Regions from separate parts of the Homo sapiens genome. Here region 2 is linked to region 1. Evidence: promoter capture Hi-C in 16 types of primary human blood cells and fetal thymus (Javierre and others, 2016). All regions are on one chromosome and are shown on one strand. Each heading gives the region's core, a stretch centred on a gene start or on the middle of the fragment in contact. The rest is flanking DNA. Distances are from core to core; before and after follow the strand shown. Region 1 holds the start of ARAP2 (ArfGAP with RhoGAP domain, ankyrin repeat and PH domain 2). Region 2 overlaps TXK (TXK tyrosine kinase).

Region 1 (4,301 bases), core at 1,086-3,585:
TGTATACACAGCATATATGTTAGGTATTTGACTAGAGTCTGGTGACTATCGATCAATTAATAAAAGATAGCTTTTGCCGTATTTCCTCAGACATTTTTATTTTCCTCCATATATTAAGATTCATTAAACCAGAATACATCTTATAACTAATGTATACATTCAATAAGTGAGCATTGTTCTTCTTTATTTCCCAGGGCTATTATGAAGTCATTGTTGTACCTTGTAGCATTTACCTTTATTTCCCCTCAGAAAACATAAATCCAGAGATTGCATTGTATTTGCTAAACACTGTATTTTCAAAATGCCAAACAGTGATTAATAATTTTTAAAGAATAAATGACTGAATAATAATCAAAGAACTAAGATATTTTTGCGAAGAGGGAGAGAGACAATTTCTCAATTAGTTTATAAAATCTACCAAGCGAAGTAACTTGAGGACAAAGCAATGATTGAACCTCCCACACATAAGATAACTGATCTAATAATTTTTATTTATAACCCACCTTGTTTAGAGAAGGACCGAAGATGGCTTACAATGATAAAAATAGAGCCAGGCATGGTGGCTCACGCCTGTAATCTCAGCACTTCTGGAGGCCAACGCAGGCGAATCACTTGAGGCCATGAGTTTCAGACCACCCTGGCCAACATGGTGAAACCCTGCCTCTACTAAAAACACGAAAATTAGCTAGGCGTGGTGGTGCATGCCTGTAATCCCAGCTACTCAGGAGGCTGAGGCGGGAGAATGGCTTGAACCCAGGAGGCGGAGGCTGCAGTGAGCTGAGATCGCGCCACTGCTCTCCACGCTCCAGCCTGGGCGATACAGCGGGGCTCAGTCGAAAACAAAAACAAAAACAAAAAAGAGAGAGATAAAAAAAAAGAGAGAAGTATGTGAGAATTTGGAGAGGGAAAAGGGAAAAAGAACAAAAGAAACACACACACACAGAGAATGAAGCCAGAAAAGAGCCACATAAATAAAATTCCTCCTATAAATGCTATAGGAATCCAGAGAAAAAGTTCCCGTGGTTTGGAAAATGTCAATAAAACTTTCCTGGTGGAAATGAGGTCGGCTATGAGGTATTAAGTTCAAAAGGAACTGGATATTTGGTGTCTCTAGTAAGACAGAGCTGCTTCAGAGTCTCCCCAGGGAAAGACGGTGCTTTGGGCAGGTAGTTAGTGTGGGTGAAGGTGATGACTGAAGAATCCTAAGGGCCCAGGCTTGTGGGAAGCCTCTCTCTTTCCGCACTTCACCAATTATCTCATTTTCATAAGGTCTGCGCTTTCCTTAATTGCTTCACTTCCATCAACAGGAACAGGGGAAAGATAAATACATTTCACCTTTTAATGAAGAGAATTTCAGGTAGTCTGTGGGAGATGTTTATAAAAAAAAAAAAAAAAGCTGGTAGGGGGCAGTGTCTCACGCCTGTAATCCCAGCACTTTGGGAGGCCGAGGCAGGTGGATCACTTGAGGTCAGGAGTTTGAGACCAGCCTGGGCAACAAGGCGAAACTCCGTCTATACCAAAAATACAAAAAAAATTACCTTGGCTGATGGTGCGCGCCTGTAATCCCAGCTACCTGGGAGGCTGACGTGGGAGGATAGCTTGGACCCAGAGGCGGAGGCGCAATGAGCTGAGATTGCCTCACTACACTCCAGCCTGGGTGACAAAGTGAGACCCTGTCTAAAAAAAAAAAAAAAAAGTAGTTGGTCTGTGAACTCACTTGCAAATAACTGGATTTTACGGACGCTTAGATATTTGGAGGTCCACAAGGGTTCTTTGGGATCCCCTATTTTCCTTCGCTGCCTCCTTTGTCAGAGTCCAACTCAAAGGGGAAATGCCCCTCTGGGATCTAACCGCCACAGGTGCAAGAAGGAGCAAATTTACATAGAAGCAGCCTGGGGAAAATAGTGCCCTAGATGAGTCTTCAGTTTGGGAAACGCTGAGCTAACACTTTAAGTACTTGGAAGAGTAATACTAATAATCAGTCGTGGCGAGGTTCCGCCCATTTGACATTCAACCCCCCATGAGTGCGCACAGACAAACCCACTGGCCAGGAGGAGCCAACACAAGGTCCTGGGCATCTCCGTCCCGGGAAGGTGGGTAATGCCCCTGTCGCTCTGGGCTCCAGGGCGCGCCCCCGCAGCTTCCCCAGCGGGGTCTGACGCCTCCGGGCCGAGGTGCGCCAGGTGGCGAGGGTGCCAGGCGCGGCCAAGTCGCGGCGGTCTGAGTCAGTCACCCAACTATGCTGCGGAACCAGGGAGGCCGGCTGGGCCGCCCCCGCCGTTGAGCTCCGGCTTCCCCCGCGCGGGGCGCCTGCTCCCCGCCCCCGCGGGCGGAGAGGAAGCGGCGGCCGAGGCGAGGCGCGGGAGCACCTGAGCAAGGCGCGGGCGCCGGGCTCGGCGTTTCCGGAGCTGAGCGCGGGTCCGCGGCCCGCGCTCCCCGCCTCCAGGTGCGGCGGCCGCGACACGCCGGCCCCACTAACAGCGCCGCCCGCGCGGCCGCCGCCAGGCAGCAGAGGCGACTGCGGACAGCCGGCGGGGACCGGGAAAGAGGAGGCCTGGCGCCTCCGGCAGAGGGGCGAGGACCGAGCGCCCAAGGCTGGGAGAGACGCCGGCGCTGAGCTTCCCAGCGCCGCCTCACCTCGCTTTTCGAACTCCGCGACCCGAGCGCAAGGCGAGTACCCGGGGCCTCGGGAAGGCTGGGCCGGGATGGCCCACGCGGGGGTGGGAGGACCCTGTCTGGAGGGGCTGGGGCTTTTCGACACTTCACCGGGTAAATTTCCTCAGCGCAAAGTGCTCGGCTCTGGTGTCCGCCCCTTGGATTTCGCTCCCGCGTGTGGGCGTCTGAAAGGAAACCAGAAGCCGGTAAGTGATCCAAGAACTCCACTTCTGGGATTTGACCCGGGAGGGTGAGGATCCGGATAGACAGCTGGACACTCCCTCCATTCCTCTCCCCTACCTTTAAATAAGAAGAAGCTGTAGTGAGTTTCAGGCACCAAGTTATTTACTCGGTAGAGATCATGAATTTGCCCGGGTGTCTGTGCTGCCCCGCACCCTGCTTGTTAACCACGTTAAGACGACTGGCCTGTTAATTAACTTTAATTACGATCATTTGGCTTCCACCTGCCTGAACCCGATACCTTACACGGGAACCTGTATGATGTGAGTTTACCAGATTGATCTTTCTTGTTTACTTTTGGAGACAGTTCTCTTGGGAGAAGTGGTGTCCATCCTATTTAATAAAGTAAGTTTTACTTTATCTAATTCTGGCTTGTTTTCTTAAACACCTCCTACCTTGAGGTGATCTGGAGTTATTTTGATTTGGGGAAAGGGTTCGTGGATTATATAGCCTTTGATAATTAGAGGAAAACACAAGAAAATAAGCTAATTTGTGTGGAATAATGACATCTTAGGGTGTTGTAAGTAGGTATCCTGATAGCAAATTCTTTTTTTTTTTTTTTTTTTTTTTGCAAGCTTGTCCTTGAAGTAGGCTGTTCAGTAGAATACAGCCTTCGGTTTAAAAAAAATCAAGAAGTGTATTGAAAATAAGCTATTTTTAAAAGTACATTTAATAGGATGTCATTGTTATTACTCATAATAGTATTGTACTTACAAGCTCAGTATTGATTTATCTGCACTTAAGCACTCTACACCCCCACAGGCCCATGGAACTTTGCCCGTAAGTAATTGGAAGATAAAAAGCAAGCTAACTTTTTTTAAGGAAAAAAAGAGAAATACCTTTAAACTCTTTTTTTTTTAACTCTTATTTATGACTTCCATACACTTACAGGAGAAATATTGAGAGAAAATACTCATGACATTTTTTGTCCAACAACGTTTAAAGAAGAAAAAAAAGTGGGTCATGGAACTAGGCTAGGGTTAAGTGCAAATATCTTCCTGGCTTCTTTCTAAACATATTTAACACATACACATTTAAGGTGGTTCCTAACACGAAGAGGGTTTTATATAGATTTGTCAGTACTCAAAGATTTATTTGAATTAAAATGTACCTAGAGGGTAAGTGAGAGAGCTTGTTAAAACGTATTTATATGGGTGTGTGCTTGTGTTTGTATTTTTTCCTTCGTCTGTAAACCTGTCAGATTTTATGTGGCTTGTCTGTAAAAGGAGAAGCTGATGGTACGTTTAAAAACAAATTCTTGTTTTTCTAATATCACTGCAAGCTCCTTGCAGTGTAAGGCTCATGGATATGCAATAATATCAGATCCAACTATTCTTGGATACTGTGGAGAAGTATAGAACTCAGATTATAATGAATTACAGTTTTCTTAAGAACTTTAACGCATT
Region 2 (4,301 bases), core at 595-3,094, about 12 Mb before region 1:
GGCTGGAGTTTGATGCCCTTTCTGAAAGATTAAAATGGACACTAGATGTGTCTTTTCTTTTGTCTTTAAATCATTTCAGTTTTTAACTCGTCACTGCAGCTGCCTTTTGTAACTACTGCAGATCCCCACATTTCTCCTCTGTGGAGCTCCCCAGGCCAGCAGTGCCCACACTCCCTGCCCACCGAGGGTCAGTGAGCAGTACGGCTTCTGGCCCAGTGCCAGCCACGCCCGTGTGCCTTGTGGCCAAGCACTTCTTCACATCACAAGCTGGCTCGATGTCTTGGGTGTGATGTCTGCGAGCTTATTATGAACTTTGAGCTCACAGAAAACAGTGTTCTAGGAAACACTGTTTTGAGATGTGGGGGAGTGGGGAAGTTGTGGGCAAGGTGCCTGCAAAGACCAACTCACATCAGCCCCTTCTGAGAAAGAAAGAAAAATTGCCTCATAGACCAAACAAGGGTTTGGGTGGCTGCTGTCCGTGTCTGGGGAGTTGCCCTGGCAGAAGCTGGGAAACAGATGAGCGGTCATCATCAGGAAGATTTCTGCCTTTCCTTACAGCACCTTTTACTCCCAGAAACATTGTCTTCCCTGGTGCCCGGGACTCCATCCAGCTTGCCAGGCTTCTAGAATCTCCTCACCCCACACAGCACCCCTTCAGGCCATAGACAGGTCAAGCACCACTCTTCCACTCAAATTGATCAGTTTGGTGTCCTGTTAGCTAGGTACTTGTTTTCTCTTAGTCACCAGTGACTCCCCTAAAGTAGTTATCCTCCCTTCTTTAAGGTTTCACTGGCAGTATAATGTCAAAAAAACAGAACAGTCAAGGTCTAACACAAATTACTCACTTATTTTATCCATACATTTAGAAAAACTAACATCTCTGGAGACCATCACTTCTTAGAATAATGGACATTTTAGTATCAAAAGGAAAAGTGCACACACGTGCGAACACAGACACAGGATCACTTCAGACCCCAAATGTATAAAGGGCATAAACTCAGAATAAAGGATAACTTTCTAAATTGAATAAATATGTGAAAAACTCAATGTCCCAATTTTACTATTTTCCCCTCTCCTTGGTGTGGGGTCTTGGTTTGGTGTCTAACTCCAAACCAAGAAGTCTAACTCCAACTTGGAAGTCTTTTCTAACTCCTGTTCAGAGGTAGAAATCCATCCATGCTATAGCCAAGCTAGTTATGTGTCACTCTCCCCAGATAATATGGGTTAATGTGGCTAAAACGTGCCTATCTTCAAAAGGCCCTTAAGAAATGGGGCCTTTTGAAGATAGGCTGGGCGCGGTGGCTCACGCCTGTAATCCTAGCACTTTGGGAGGCCGAGGCAGGTGGATCACGAGGTCAGGAGATCGAGACCATCCTGACTAACACAGTGAAACCCCGTCTCTACTAAAAATACAAAAAGAAATTAGCCGGGCGTGGTGGCAGACACCTGTAGTCCCAGCTACTCGGGAGGCTGAGGCAGGAGAATGGCGTGAACCCGGGAGCAGAGGTTGCAGTGAGCTGAGATCGTGCCACCACACTCCAGCCTGGGAGACAGAGTGAGACTCCATCTCAAAAAAAAAAAAAAAAAAAAAAGGATGTAGTGGTGGGCATTTATGGCAGAGTAATGAGGAAGTTTGGCCTTTCTGTAAATTTCTGGAAAAAAAAACAAAAAGGATATGTTGCAGCAAACTTACAGAATCAGCTCTGGTCACCCAGAGCCATTTTTCCAAAGCCACAAGTTTTTAAGGCTTTCCCCACTCACCACAGCCCATCAACTGCAAAAGCAGCCGGTATCAGACATTCCTCATCTTAAAACCACAACCTGGAGCGCCTGGCTTGGGCAACAAGCCTGGTCTTTGGGTTAAGGCAGCTCTCAAAACTGAGCCAGTTTCAAGCCATGTTTTTAAATATAAATCACTAGCCATGTGCCAGTTATTATGATGACCAAATTCAGTAGGAATGCATTTCACTCAAGGCACTGATTCAAAACGAAACCCTGACATCGGAAATGCCAGGGGATGAACTGGAGGTGACGATGTAAACTTCAAAACATTAGACATGAGGAAGCGACAGCGGCTTTGCTTCCCGCGCAGCCCGGGCCCCACAGTTCTTCACATCTGTTCCTTTGTCCTCTTCAGAGATGACCTTAGGAGCTATTCTGAGAAGGGGTGCTTCTCACTTTTGCTTTCTTCCAGTGCCCCCTGGTGGAAACCTGTTCCCAATCAGCCCAGCTGTTGCCACCCAGGAACCTCTGGGGGTGGAAGGAATGTCAATAGGAGCCTCTCCTAGAGGACAGAGGGGCGCAAATCCTTCCAAGGAAAAAACACAAATACCAAAGATGGGAGGGCCAACTGCCTATCCCATGACAGATGTGCCGGTTTCTAAAGGTCACAGAGATTACATCTGATGCGATGCCCTTTTTCTGATTTGCTGGCCTGAGGCTCATCATTAGAGATATTTACTGAGGAATGAGAAGTAGATGAAAAGAACAGCGCAGATGTAAGCCTGGGAGAGGAAGCTCAGCTCCTTCAGTGATAATCTTCAAGCCCGAATATATTCTTTCCACATTTCCTTCCAGCAGGCAAATAGTCATTGCCTATCTCTGGGGCATTTTTGTCACTCTGGCAAAGGCCCTTGATATGCATGAGTTCCTGCCTAAGTTGGGAATTTGCTAAAAGCTCAAGAGCTTTCCCTCTGCAGGTTAATCGGCAAAACAATTCAAAGAATGGCTTCTGTAATCACAGAATGCCTGTGGAAGGGCGCTGTCTATTTACTTACTGGGAACACCTGTGCTGCTGTAAATTGAAAATGATCATGAAATGAATACTCCTTGATACCTGCATTGGAATGAATTTTGGCCCAACACTTCAACCTGTAAATAAAGATGCCTGCTGTCTTGGAAAGTCATGCCAAGCAAGGGAACACCAGGGAGCTGTTTGGCTTTCATAGTGTGATTTTTCTTCTCGCAATGATTATTTATTGGGCAGCAACTCTGCTGGGCAGAGGATGGAACCACAAACAAAGCAGTGGTTTGCCTTCCTGCTCACCACTGTTCTTGGACTTTGAGGGAAATTAAATAAAATTGGGTCATAATTAAAGCAGTGGTAGGGTAGGTCTGTATCTTTCTTTAAAGGCCATTGTCTTTGCTATTGAATCAGGAAACATAAGAATTTTTGAAAATATTTTCTCCTAAATTCCAGGCTGCAGAAGACAGTGAAGACAACTAAGGGGAATATTATCAGGTGTGGCCATGTGTTGTGAGGTCAGGGAGCTGGGGGAGGCATTTCTCTAGTCCCAGATACTCCTGCCTGCTGACTGATAACAGCAATTTCTCTTTCAAAGTTCTTGACTTGGCCAGGCATGGTGGCTCCTGCCTGTAATCCCAGCAGTTTGGGAGGCCAAAGAGGGGGATCACTTGAGGTTGGGAGTTTGAGACTAGCTTGGCCAATGTGGTGAAATCCTATCTCTACTAAAAATACCAAAAAAATTAGCCGGGTATGGTGGAGTGTGCCTGTAGTCCCAGCTACTTGGGAGGCTGAGGCAGGAGAATCGCTTGAACCTGGGAGGCGGAGGTTGCAGTGAGCCGAGATCATGCCACTGCACTCCAGCCTGGATGACAGAGCAAGACTCCATCTCAAACAAAACAAAACAAACAACCACACACACACACAAAGTTGTTGACACTTGAATAAGGTGGTTCCCCAAAATGTAACTACTCATAGCCTAACATTGACCAGAAGCCTCAATAACATAAATGTTGATCAACACGTATTTTGTATGTTATGTGTATCATACACTGTATTCTTACAATAAAGTAAGCTAGAGAAAAGAAATGCTTTAAGAAAGTCATAAGGAAGAGAAAATAGATTTACTATTCATGGAGTGAAAGTGGCTCATGATAAATGCCTTCATCCTCGTCATCTTCATGTTGAATAGTCTGAGAAGGATGATGAAGAGGAGGGATTGGTCTTTCTGTCTCAGGGGTGACAGAGGCAGAAGAAAATCTTCATGTAAATGTTTATACCATGTTTTTCAAGTGTCAAACTATTTAAATTTAATGTGTTGTGATGGTTAATTTTATGGGTCAACATGGCTTGGCCATGGTGCCCAGATATTTGATCAAACATTATTCTGGATGTTTCTGTGAAGGTAATTTTTGGATGAGATTAACATTTAAATCGGTGGACTTGGAGTACAGTGGGTCACCCTCCATCATGTGAGTGGGCCTCTCCCACAGTTGAAGTCCCTAATCAATGAAAGTCAGACCTCCCCTGAGCAAGGAGGACTTTTGCCAGCAGACCG

The links. Contacts are between HindIII fragments. The CHiCAGO score rates a contact against its expected background, and 5 or more counts as called.
Region 2: a fragment that was not itself captured here is called in contact with the fragment with the promoter of ARAP2 in region 1 in 1 of 17 cell types (non-activated CD4 T cells); the score reaches 6.9 in non-activated CD4 T cells.

What each region holds. Positions count from the first base shown.
Region 1 is chr4:36,242,548-36,246,848 of GRCh38, reverse strand. It overlaps ARAP2 (ArfGAP with RhoGAP domain, ankyrin repeat and PH domain 2), which reads left to right and starts at 2,335. Exons shown (of 33, transcript NM_015230.4): 1 at 2,335-2,670. It overlaps LOC439933 (a long non-coding RNA gene), which reads right to left and starts at 2,733. Exons shown (of 5, transcript NR_122079.1): 1 at 2,638-2,733; 2 at 1,539-1,677. RefSeq lists a silencer at 1,960-2,539. The HindIII fragment of the contact is 5,605 bases long and covers 1-3,472 here.
Region 2 is chr4:48,125,853-48,130,153 of GRCh38, reverse strand. The region is part of intron 1 of TXK (TXK tyrosine kinase); the gene reads left to right. Among named protein-coding and RNA genes, the nearest start is that of TXK, 6.2 kb to the left of the region's middle. RefSeq lists enhancers at 512-631, 2,153-3,015 and a silencer at 2,508-2,802. The HindIII fragment of the contact is 7,843 bases long and covers 1-4,301 here.